Linked DNA regions of Homo sapiens: regions 2 and 3 are each linked to region 1. The links are contacts of gene promoters, found by promoter capture Hi-C in blood cells and fetal thymus (Javierre and others, 2016). All regions are on one chromosome and are shown on one strand. Each heading gives the region's core, a stretch centred on a gene start or on the middle of the fragment in contact. The rest is flanking DNA. Distances are from core to core; before and after follow the strand shown.

The links. Contacts are between HindIII fragments. The CHiCAGO score rates a contact against its expected background, and 5 or more counts as called.
Region 2: a contact is called between a fragment that was not itself captured here and the fragment with the promoter of HMX2 in region 1, in 1 of 17 cell types (neutrophils). The highest score is 6.2, in neutrophils.
Region 3: a contact is called between a fragment that was not itself captured here and the fragment with the promoter of HMX2 in region 1, in 1 of 17 cell types (monocytes). The highest score is 5.4, in monocytes.

Annotation. Positions count from the first base shown.
Region 1 is chr10:123,146,815-123,150,231 of GRCh38, forward strand. It overlaps HMX2 (H6 family homeobox 2), which reads left to right and starts at 1,322. Exons shown (of 2, transcript NM_005519.2): 1 at 1,322-1,832; 2 at 2,756-3,417. The coding sequence starts at 1,565. The coding sequence ends at 3,309. RefSeq lists silencers at 1,192-1,511, 1,902-2,031, 3,139-3,417. The HindIII fragment of the contact is 9,748 bases long and covers 33-3,417 here.
Region 2 is chr10:125,729,026-125,732,333 of GRCh38, forward strand. EDRF1 (erythroid differentiation regulatory factor 1) reads left to right here. Exons shown (of 25, transcript NM_001202438.2): 7 at 1-79; 8 at 333-454; 9 at 1,263-1,374. Among named protein-coding and RNA genes, the nearest start is that of EDRF1, 11 kb to the left of the region's middle. The HindIII fragment of the contact is 1,114 bases long and covers 1,069-2,182 here.
Region 3 is chr10:125,828,363-125,831,672 of GRCh38, forward strand. BCCIP (BRCA2 and CDKN1A interacting protein) reads left to right here. Exons shown (of 7, transcript NM_078468.3): 4 at 2,200-2,289; 5 at 3,058-3,245. Among named protein-coding and RNA genes, the nearest start is that of BCCIP, 6.5 kb to the left of the region's middle. The HindIII fragment of the contact is 3,325 bases long and covers 1-3,036 here.

The DNA.
Region 1 (3,417 bases), core at 72-2,571:
CTTCGGGCCTTGCCTCACTTCAGTTTCCAGGAAGCTTGTGCAGACGACTGTGGCCCCAAACCGCTTTGCTTGGCTGGGCTAATTCTAGCTCGGGTAACAGCTGATCTAGGAATTAAAGGGGCGAGAGCCAGGGCACAGAAGGGGGCTATGAGAACACAGAGGGAATCACTATTTACTGAGCACCACGGTGTGCCAGGCTCGGTGCTGGGTAGTTTGACCTCACAACAGCCTCTGCGAGGGAGGCACTGCTTCCTCCAATTTTAGGAATAAAGAAACCGAGCCTCAGAATTTCCAAATGTCTTCCCCCAAGATCACCCAGCCGAGAATTGAGTCGAGTCTGCTCAATTCTAAAACCGAGTCCTGTCACCAGTTCCTTATCTTCTTCCTGGGAGTAAGGCGTCTATTTCTGCAGCAGTTCGGAAACCTTCAAAATTTACAAAACAAAAACACAGATTCGCTTAAAACACGGGTGGGCCATGGGCTACCCGGCCAGGTTTATGGAGTACCTACTATGCGCTGCTAGTGCTTCGAGGCTTTTAATCCCTACCTGAGGCAATCCGAGAAGTTATTTTCAACTATGAGGGCAGAGAGGCTTTAATCGGCATGAGTTGTGCAAGTTCATGCAGTGTGTAAATAGTTGTGCCGGAATTTGAACCCAGATCTCTTGACTAGAGGTCTTAGGGCTTCCTCCCTCCCCCTAAAGATTCTGTAGGTCCGTAGAACCTGTGACAGGGATGAGGTCTGCAGACGGGGAAGGGGAATGTCTGCTCCCAAGGCTCCTGGCCATGCTGGAGAGGATGAGCGTCCGCCTGGAGACGCCTGCTCCTAACCCACCTCACCCCCACGCAGGGCGCCACGGTCCCAGGAGTGCCGGCTTTGCCCGCCCACTGGGGCTAGAAGGGGTGGAGGGCTGGGGGAGGATGGTGGAGCAGCCTGTACAAGCCCCTGGGAGGCGCGGAGACCCGTCGCCTGCGGAGGCGTCGAGCCACTCCAGCTCCGAGTCCCGCACCGCCCCTGCCTCTGGAGAGAAGGGTCCAAGGGGTCCAAGGAGTCGGAGTTGCCGCAGCCGCCAGGAACCCGGGCTAGAATCTGCAGCTGCTTTCAGCCCTGGCTGCCCCTGGTTAGACGCCGCTGATGCCCGCCAGGCCCTCGGCGCGCTCTGGGGGCGCACCGGTGCTGTGTGCCTGGCCGGAGCGTTTTGAAATTTTCCGGGGCCGCTCGGCGGCGCTGCGATTGGCCGCGTTCGGGTAACCTCTATGCAAATGAGGCCGCGCCGCCTCCGCGCCGCCGGAGACCCGGCGAGTTGGCGGGCGAGGAAGGGGCATTTGCACCGGGGCTGGGCGGGCGCACCCAGAGCCAGGCGGGCAGGAACCCCTGCGCAGCCATCCGGTGCCTGCATGTCCCTGGCGCGGAAGGGACGCCTCACCAGCCTCGGCGCCCCCTCCCCCTAGATTTCCTCCCCGCCCCTCCCCACTGCCTGCCTGCTGCACCACCTTCCACCCAGATCACCCAGATCGTCTCTAAAGGGAGTTCTTGGTTTCCTTCGATTTCTTATGAACCCAGGATGGGCAGCAAAGAAGATGCGGGCAAGGGGTGTCCGGCGGCCGGTGGCGTCTCCAGCTTCACCATCCAGTCCATCCTGGGCGGGGGCCCCTCGGAGGCACCGCGGGAGCCCGTCGGCTGGCCAGCCAGGAAGCGCAGCCTGTCCGTGTCCTCGGAGGAGGAGGAGCCGGACGACGGCTGGAAGGCGCCCGCCTGCTTCTGCCCAGACCAGCACGGCCCTAAGGAGCAGGGCCCCAAGCACCATCCCCCCATCCCTTTTCCTTGCCTGGGTAAGGATCGCACGTCGCCAGTGTGGCAGCGAGCGAGCGCGAGGGGAGGGAGGCTGAGCGCCCCGCCAAGACTCCCGCGCCGGGCCCCCTCTGGCCAGAGCTGCGGCAGCCGGGGGTTCGGGACCGCGGGGAGAGGGGCGCGCACTGTGGTGCCTCCTCCGCCCGGTGGGCCCCTGGGAGCAGGCGAACACAGACCCGTGCCGGCTTGGGCTTCCTGGGGAAGGTTGAGTTGTTGAGAGAGTGGACCACAGCGAGAGGGACACGCGGCCGGCCTTACACCCGGCTGTCCTCAATCACTGCACATCTGGTACTTTCTTTCCGGACACGAGGTGGAGATCTGCAAGTCGGGTCTGGGCAGTCTGTCTCCACCGTAATCTCTTTCTGAGTCTTCTTCCTCACTCGCTCCGTATCTCTGCCTTTCTCTCTCTCTCCTCCTTGGAATGATTAGCACTCCAAGATGATTGACAATGGTGCATTTCAGAGACGGTTCCTCTTTACAACATTTGACGAAGGGGAGTCCTGCGTTAGTCCTTAGCGTGATTTCCAAACAAACGGCCTGTGAAATGATGCCACCCTATAAAGCTCGAGGAACTCTTCCAGCTCAATTACCACCAAGCAAATTCGCCTTTTAAAACCATGCTAATGTTTCCCCCTCCAGACCTCCTCTCCCTGTTGCCCCTGGCCCATTCATAAAGGTGGGAGCACAGAGACCCCATACTCCAAGTAGCTGGGTCCCTCTCTTGTCGCTTTTAAAGGACGGGGTGCTGGGTTTGGGGGGCCAGTGAGAGGGATAAGAGGAGGGGATTGGTAAGGTGGGACCAAGGCTGCAGGCGCTTGCCAACCGCTTGGTCCCAGGGAGAGCTGGCGGTCTCCGAGGCTCCCCAACCAACTCCATGGCCTTTCTGTCTGTTCTCGCTCCTCAGGTACCCCCAAGGGCAGCGGAGGCTCGGGCCCGGGCGGCTTGGAGCGCACGCCTTTCCTCTCTCCTTCGCACTCGGACTTTAAAGAAGAGAAAGAGAGGCTCCTGCCCGCGGGCTCGCCCTCGCCGGGGTCCGAGCGGCCGCGGGACGGCGGCGCTGAGCGGCAGGCCGGCGCGGCCAAGAAGAAGACGCGCACCGTCTTTTCGCGCAGCCAGGTGTACCAGCTCGAGTCCACCTTCGACATGAAGCGCTACCTGAGCAGCTCGGAGCGCGCCTGCCTCGCCTCCAGCCTGCAGCTCACGGAGACCCAGGTAAAGACTTGGTTCCAGAACCGCCGCAACAAGTGGAAGCGGCAGCTCTCGGCTGAGCTGGAGGCGGCCAACATGGCGCACGCGTCGGCGCAGACTCTGGTGAGCATGCCGCTGGTGTTCCGGGACAGTTCGCTGCTGCGCGTGCCGGTGCCGCGCTCGCTCGCCTTTCCCGCGCCGCTCTACTACCCGGGAAGCAACCTCTCGGCCTTACCTCTCTACAACCTATACAACAAGCTCGACTACTGACCGGCCCGCCGCCCCGCGCCGCCCCCAGCTGCCCGCAGAGCCGGGCGCGTACTGTACTGTAAGCAGGGCTCCGGAGCAAGGCGGCGTGTTTCCAGAAATATGAAGAAA
Region 2 (3,308 bases), core at 376-2,875, 2.6 Mb after region 1:
ATACATAGTGGGGCATGTGGCCTCAGCCCCCAAAGAACAAAACCTGATTACTTTATTCAATGACGGGGAGCACAGTCAGGTATGCTTTCCATGGTGTCCAAGGTGACAGCAAATCCCCAGTCTACTTTGTCATTTCAAAACTAGCCTAAGTCGAAATTGATAGGGAAAAACTCCACTTGATCCTGAAACTGCTTTCTAAGCATCTTTGTGATCTTAGCTCTGGGGCCTGACTTTGTCTTCTTTGTCTCTTCCTTTTTCTAGTCTTTTTATGGATCATGGGGGGAAATTACAGATTGACTGTTTATTATAATCCTCCCTATTTTAAATCACAGGGTCTTAAAAATGATTTTGTTCGGAATATTCTATGGACATTTGAAGATATCCATATGTTGGTCGGCTCCAACATGCCCATATTTGGAGGAGGCAGATACCCAGCAGTCAGCTTACGTCTCAGGTGAACTAACATCATACCCCTCCTCAAGCTTATGGTATTTAAATTCTTCCTTTAGAATCAGTGTTCCATCAGACTGAGGTTGCAGTGAGCCAAGATCATGCTACCGCACTCCAGCCTAGGCGAAAGAGCAAGACTCGTCTCAAAAAAGAATCAGTGTTCCATCTATTTGGGCATCTTCCTCTTTCTCTAGGTTTTTTCCCCTCCCTCCTTCCCCTGCCAGTTGAAATGGCCACATTAAGGAAGGAGCTACTGTCAGCAGATGCTGAAAGGCAGGCCTATAGCTGAGTCTTCATTCTAGACCTCATTGAATAGAGCCAGAGGTTTGTTGGACTGGCCTAGTCTTAGGTCTGAATCTACAACTTGTGAGAATATTCAAGAGAGTTTATTTAATTAGTTAGATTCCTACTAACTACTTGTGAGCATTTTTCTTAATGCTCCACGTGTATTTGTTGATATTAGCCAATGTGAATTCCAACTTAAGCATGGTCTTGTATGGTGTTCAGTCTTTCTTCAAGTTGTGTGTGAGGAGCAGGCAGTAGGCTCACCGTCCTTTCCTATTATATTGTCTTCTATTCTTACTGAAAACTTACCAATGTCAGTTAGAAATACAAGCAAGCTTTTGGAAAGATGTTAAATATAGCACAACCACTGAGCTGCATGTGCATATCTTATCAGAAAAGAAAGCATAGATGGCATTTTCTATCTAGAGAGGACAGCTTAAGATACTTAAATGGTGAAATAACTTTCAGATGATTAATTAAGGAACATCTTAATTAAACCAAATAACACTAGAAATGTATATTTTTAGGGATAACAACAAACCAATTAATGTGCTAACTGGAATTGACTATTGGTTGGACAACTTGATATGCAATGTGCCAGAGCTTGTGATGTGTTTTCATGTAAATGGAATTGTACAGGTAAGATACAGTGTGATTTTTCTGATCTCTCAAATGCAAATTGGTACAGAGAGTTCCTCACCAAAGTCTTTACGGCCCTGAAGTACTAAGGTGCATTTTTGCCAGGGAAGATAGCTGTGAATAAACTGAATTTGAGTGTACATTTAAGTTGGTGATAACAGAATTGTAGATGTTATAGAAGTATAATTTTACAGGTAATTTGGAGGAAGTTCATAAATATATGAAAACCTGCATTTGTAGCCATAGAACTCTAATTTTAATGCCAAGCTCTCATTAATAATTAACTGAAAGTGTCTACACAATGGAGGCGTTTCTTCGTTATGCAAATATCTACTCAGTACATGCAAAGTTTTAGGGAAAGGTCTTGTAAAAATTGCATATGGTGGATAGCTTATATAGCAAATTCTTATTGAGCATATTCTGTTTAGAAGACACGTATCCCCATTATAAGTGTTGGGGGAAGCTAGGCGTGTTGGCTTATTCCTGTAATCCCAAGCTACTCAGGAGACTGAGGCAGCAGGATCACTTGAAGCCGAGAGTTCAAGACCAACCTGGGCAACGTAGTGAGACCCTAATTGTAGAAAAACAACGCACACACTTAGTTGGGCATGGTGGTACATGTCTGTAGTCCCAGCTACTTGGGGGCTTGAAGCAGGAGGATCACTTGAGCCCAGGAGTTTGAGGCTGCAGTGAGCTATGATCGTGCCACTGCACTCCAGTATGAGTGACAGAGCAAGACCCTGTCTCAAAAAAATAAAAAAATTGAGAATTTAAACAATAAATAATTGTTGAAGGAAAACAAAGAATAAGCTTGGTTGTTATTCAGAAAGAGATAATCTAATGGGAAATAATATGCAGAGAGAACAGTAGGAGACAGATAAGAATTAGAAGTGTAGCACACAGAAATCTAGATCATCAGAGAAGGGGGTGAGCACTTCCATTCAGGTCTGGAGGAAAGACTTTGTGGAAGAAGGGACATCTTAACTGAGTCCTGAATGATAGCTAGTATCTCAAAAAATAAGAGCTGGATTTTAAAAGTCTAGTGTAAATACATGAAAGGATTGATAATAAATCCAGCTAGGGAACACAGGATTTATGTAGCAGAATAGCTGCAAGTAAGGTTGGAAAAGTCATGGTCAAATGATGGAGATCTTAAATGTTGAGCTAAGGAGTATGGACTTGGTTCAGTTGGTAATCTGGAATCAGAAGGCTTTGCATCTAGGAGGGGAAATTTGTTGTGTTAGAATATTAATTTAGAGATAGCATATAGGACAGAAAAGGAGGACTTAGAGACAAGAAAACCAGAGGCATTGTACCATTTTGCAGATAGTGTAATGTACTTTCCACTAGAGAGGAACTATTAAGAATCAACAATGGTAAGAATAGATAGCATTTATTGAGTGCTTATTTTATCCAAGCACTTTGCTGAATGCTTTAAATGCTTTACCTTATTTGATCTTCTTAGCTACCTCACATGCTGTTATTCCTATTTGATGGAAAGAGAGACTGAGGATCAAGGAGCTCAAGTGAGTTGCCCAGGGTCAACTTAGTAGTGAGTGGCGGTGCCAGTCTTTGTGCCTCTCTCTGGCTGAGGACATGCTTTGAACCGTTATATTCCAACCCAGTGATTCTTAACCTGGTTGTGCATCAGAATCACTTGTGGTCTCTGAAAAAATGCACTTGCTTGGGCCCCCAGTGTTCTAGTATCAGTAGGATGTGTACTTCTGTCTTTTCTGAAAGTCTGCTGTATGATTCTGGTTTGCAGTCTTGATTGAAAACCACTGTTAGACCATCTCCCTAAATGGCAACATTTAGTGAGAGGCTGGGGTGGGAGTGGGGAGCAAGAGAAAAGAGAGAGGCAGATAAAGCGTTAGCAAGGCGGAGGGGAACAGGAGTCAAAGGAGATTCCAGGGTTTAGGGACTAGAATAATGGT
Region 3 (3,310 bases), core at 124-2,623, 2.7 Mb after region 1:
AGTTGGTCGTAAATGTTACTGAGGTCGTAGAAGTGATTGAGATTGCGCAGGGAGGGAAGGGACAGACACCTTAGTAATACCAAGAATACTTCGATGAGTAATATAAGTGGCAGAGCCAGCAAAGGAGATTAAAAGGGATGACAGGAGAAGTAGAAGAAACAATAGTGCAGTGATGTCATACACAGCAAGAAAGATAACATTTGAAGGAGGAGGGGATGGTCATCTTTATCAGATAGATGTTGTAGAGAGCTCAACAAAATAAGGACTGGTTTAGACCCTGGGTCTGCTGCTTATCATCTGGTGGTTCTTTGGGTTATCTGTTGTTTGTATAACAAACCACCCCATAGCTTAGTGTCGTAAAATAGCAGTAGTCATTTATTTGGCTAATGGATCTACAGTTTGGACAGAGCTCAGTGGGCACAACTCATCTGTGCTCCTGCTCCATCATGTTAGCTGGGGTGGCTTGACTAGGGGCTGGAGGATTCCCTTTCAAGATGGCTCACTCACATGACTGGCAAGTTAGCCCTAGCTGTCTGTCGGGAGCTTAGCTGGGACTCTGGACCAGGGGCCTTAGTTCTTCTCCATGTGGGCCTCGTCACACATTGGTTTGCTTCCAAGAGCAAGCTGCCCAAAAGAAGCAGGCAGAAGTGATATAGTGCCATTTCCACCATTTGCTTAGTCTTTACAGATAGAAATTTCTATCTAGGGGGAGGGCACATTGATCCCACCACTCCATGAGAAAAGTACCTAGGTCACTTTGTCAGAAGAGCATGTCCAAGGAGAGATCCATTGGGGCCATCTGTGAAAGATACAGTCTGCCACAGTACCTTAATCTGTTTCCATTTCTGTCTCTGAAAATGAGGATGGTACTAGCACCGATCTTGTAGAGTGCATGGGTAAACAAAATGAATTGCTGACTGCTTAAAACAGTGTCTGGCAGCTGACATGTGCTACATATGTGTAGCTGTCACTGTTGATGTCTTTTTCCTGTTCCTAGCACCTGTTCCCTAGCCTGTTGTGAAAAACACAACAAACAAAAGCTCCATTCAGTCTAATGTTCCACTCTTAAGTACATCACCTTCAGAGCCAAAATTCTTGAAAAGTAATCTTAAGTCATGGTTTCTACTTCCTGTCCTCCTATTCATTCTTCAGACACTCTTATCTGACTTTTACACCACTAAAATTCGGACACTGAGTGATAGGGTCACCAACATACTTGTTACTAAATACAGTGTACACTTTTCAAGGCTTCTGACAATATTAGTAACTTTATGGCACTCAATGTAAAGAAAATGAGAAATTAAACCTATGGGGCATTCCTTTTATTAGGGCAATGGGAAAAAGCAGACCACCTGCCCTTTCATCAAATAAATGTGATCTCTAGCTGATTCGTGTCTTAGAAGACCTAATGGATATGGAGGAGAAGCAGTTATTTTTATCCTTGAAAGAGGTTATTATCTAATGGCAGGATTCACTCTTTAAATGGATAATCACATCAATAGCTCTGCAGTTGTAACTGTGGCTTCTTGGGATTCTCCAGAGACACTTGAGGTGTCCTGAGGATAGAGACTTCTTGTTCTTAGTAAAGGGACTACCCATAGTGTTCGGTGGAGCCAGTCCCTAGGATCATAGAACAAAGGGCAGGGGGTTCTCTTTTTTCCCCTTCTCTCTTGCTAATGTGATAGGTGTAAGTGGCCCTCAAGCATTGCCTAGCTTCACTAATGGTCAAGACTGACAAGTGTTCTGGAAACTCATGAGTTTTAGATGAAACAATGCTGTGGGCCAGCAGAGAAGCAAGGCTTGGCTCCAGCCTAATTGTGTAGAAAACAAATGAAAATGCTTTATTTCATGAGGTTTATCTCTTCTGGATTTGTATTATATTGAGAATCTGATAAAAGAAAATGACTTAATCTGGTACAAAGAAATTTCAATCTGTTCAGAATCTGAAAAGAGGAACAGAGTCGAGGTAAAGCGAAATGAACAAGGTCACACAGTATTTAAGATACAATGCTTTCCAAGATGATGGTGGTAAAACTGTGACAGTATTTAAAATACAATGCTTTCTAAGATGGCGGTGGTAAAACAAAGTTTTGCTTTTGAAAAGTGAAAAGATAAATGAGGCCTACATCCCAAGACTTGGTTTTATACTCTTGGTATTATACTAAATATAACATTTAAATATTTTTTCTTTTAAAATAGCAAACGGATGTTTCAGAAGACAGCAATGATGATATGGATGAAGATGAGGTTTTTGGTTTCATAAGCCTTTTAAATTTAACTGAAAGAAAGGTTGGTTTCACTGGATGGCATCTGAATGGTTATTTCTTAGGCCAAAACCACTTTTATTTAATGCATGGTGAAAATGTCTTTTATGTTAAACAGTGATATTAACTATAGGGATAAGTGCTCTTGTGAAATCTTATTGTAATCCTTTTTCAATATGAAGGTGGTGGTGTTGGGTCTGTACCCAGTTAAAGTTGTTTACTCCCTGTGGTTTAGGGAATCATCTGGCTTTGCAGTCCTGATGTTGGTACTGATGCAGGAGCTGTTTGTGCTGTCTCTCTGCAGCTGTTATCTTTGCTACTTGTGTAGTGGGGATATTCTCAGGCTTTGCTGCCTCAATGTTGAGGGCATTTACTGACATTTTATTTTGTTTCGATTCATCTCTTTTTATTGATTCTCTGATGAGTTGTAATAAAAAGTAAACCAGCTGCTTACCCACCTCAGAATAAGATGCAGGCTACACTTAGTCTTTAATTTTGAAATAAACTGTCCAGTTACTTCCATCTATCTTTATGAGATGGACTAGAGTTGCCATTCCAGTGTGTCTGAATGTTAATTATGACTCTCTTACCACTCATCATGGGATGGTAAATAACCAGTGTATTTACTTTTGAGAAATGCTTAAGCAGTCAACACTGAAGACATACAAGACGTTAAGGCTATGGCAGGAAACTGCCCTTAGCTGTAAGATGAAAAGTGATAGCTTTTACTCTCAGGTTTTGTCCTCTATGTGATGGCTTGTAATAGGAAACAAGCTTTCTCTTTGCTTTCTAGGGTACCCAGTGTGTTGAACAAATTCAAGAGTTGGTTCTACGCTTCTGTGAGAAGAACTGTGAAAAGAGCATGGTTGAACAGCTGGACAAGTTTTTAAATGACACCACCAAGCCTGTGGGCCTTCTCCTAAGTGAAAGATTCATTAATGTCCCTCCACAGATCGCTCTGCCCATGTACCAGCAGCTTCAGTAAGAGATTCTGGGAAAATATCTTTGAACAGTAATTTTTTTTTCAAATAGATTCCTAAATGTCA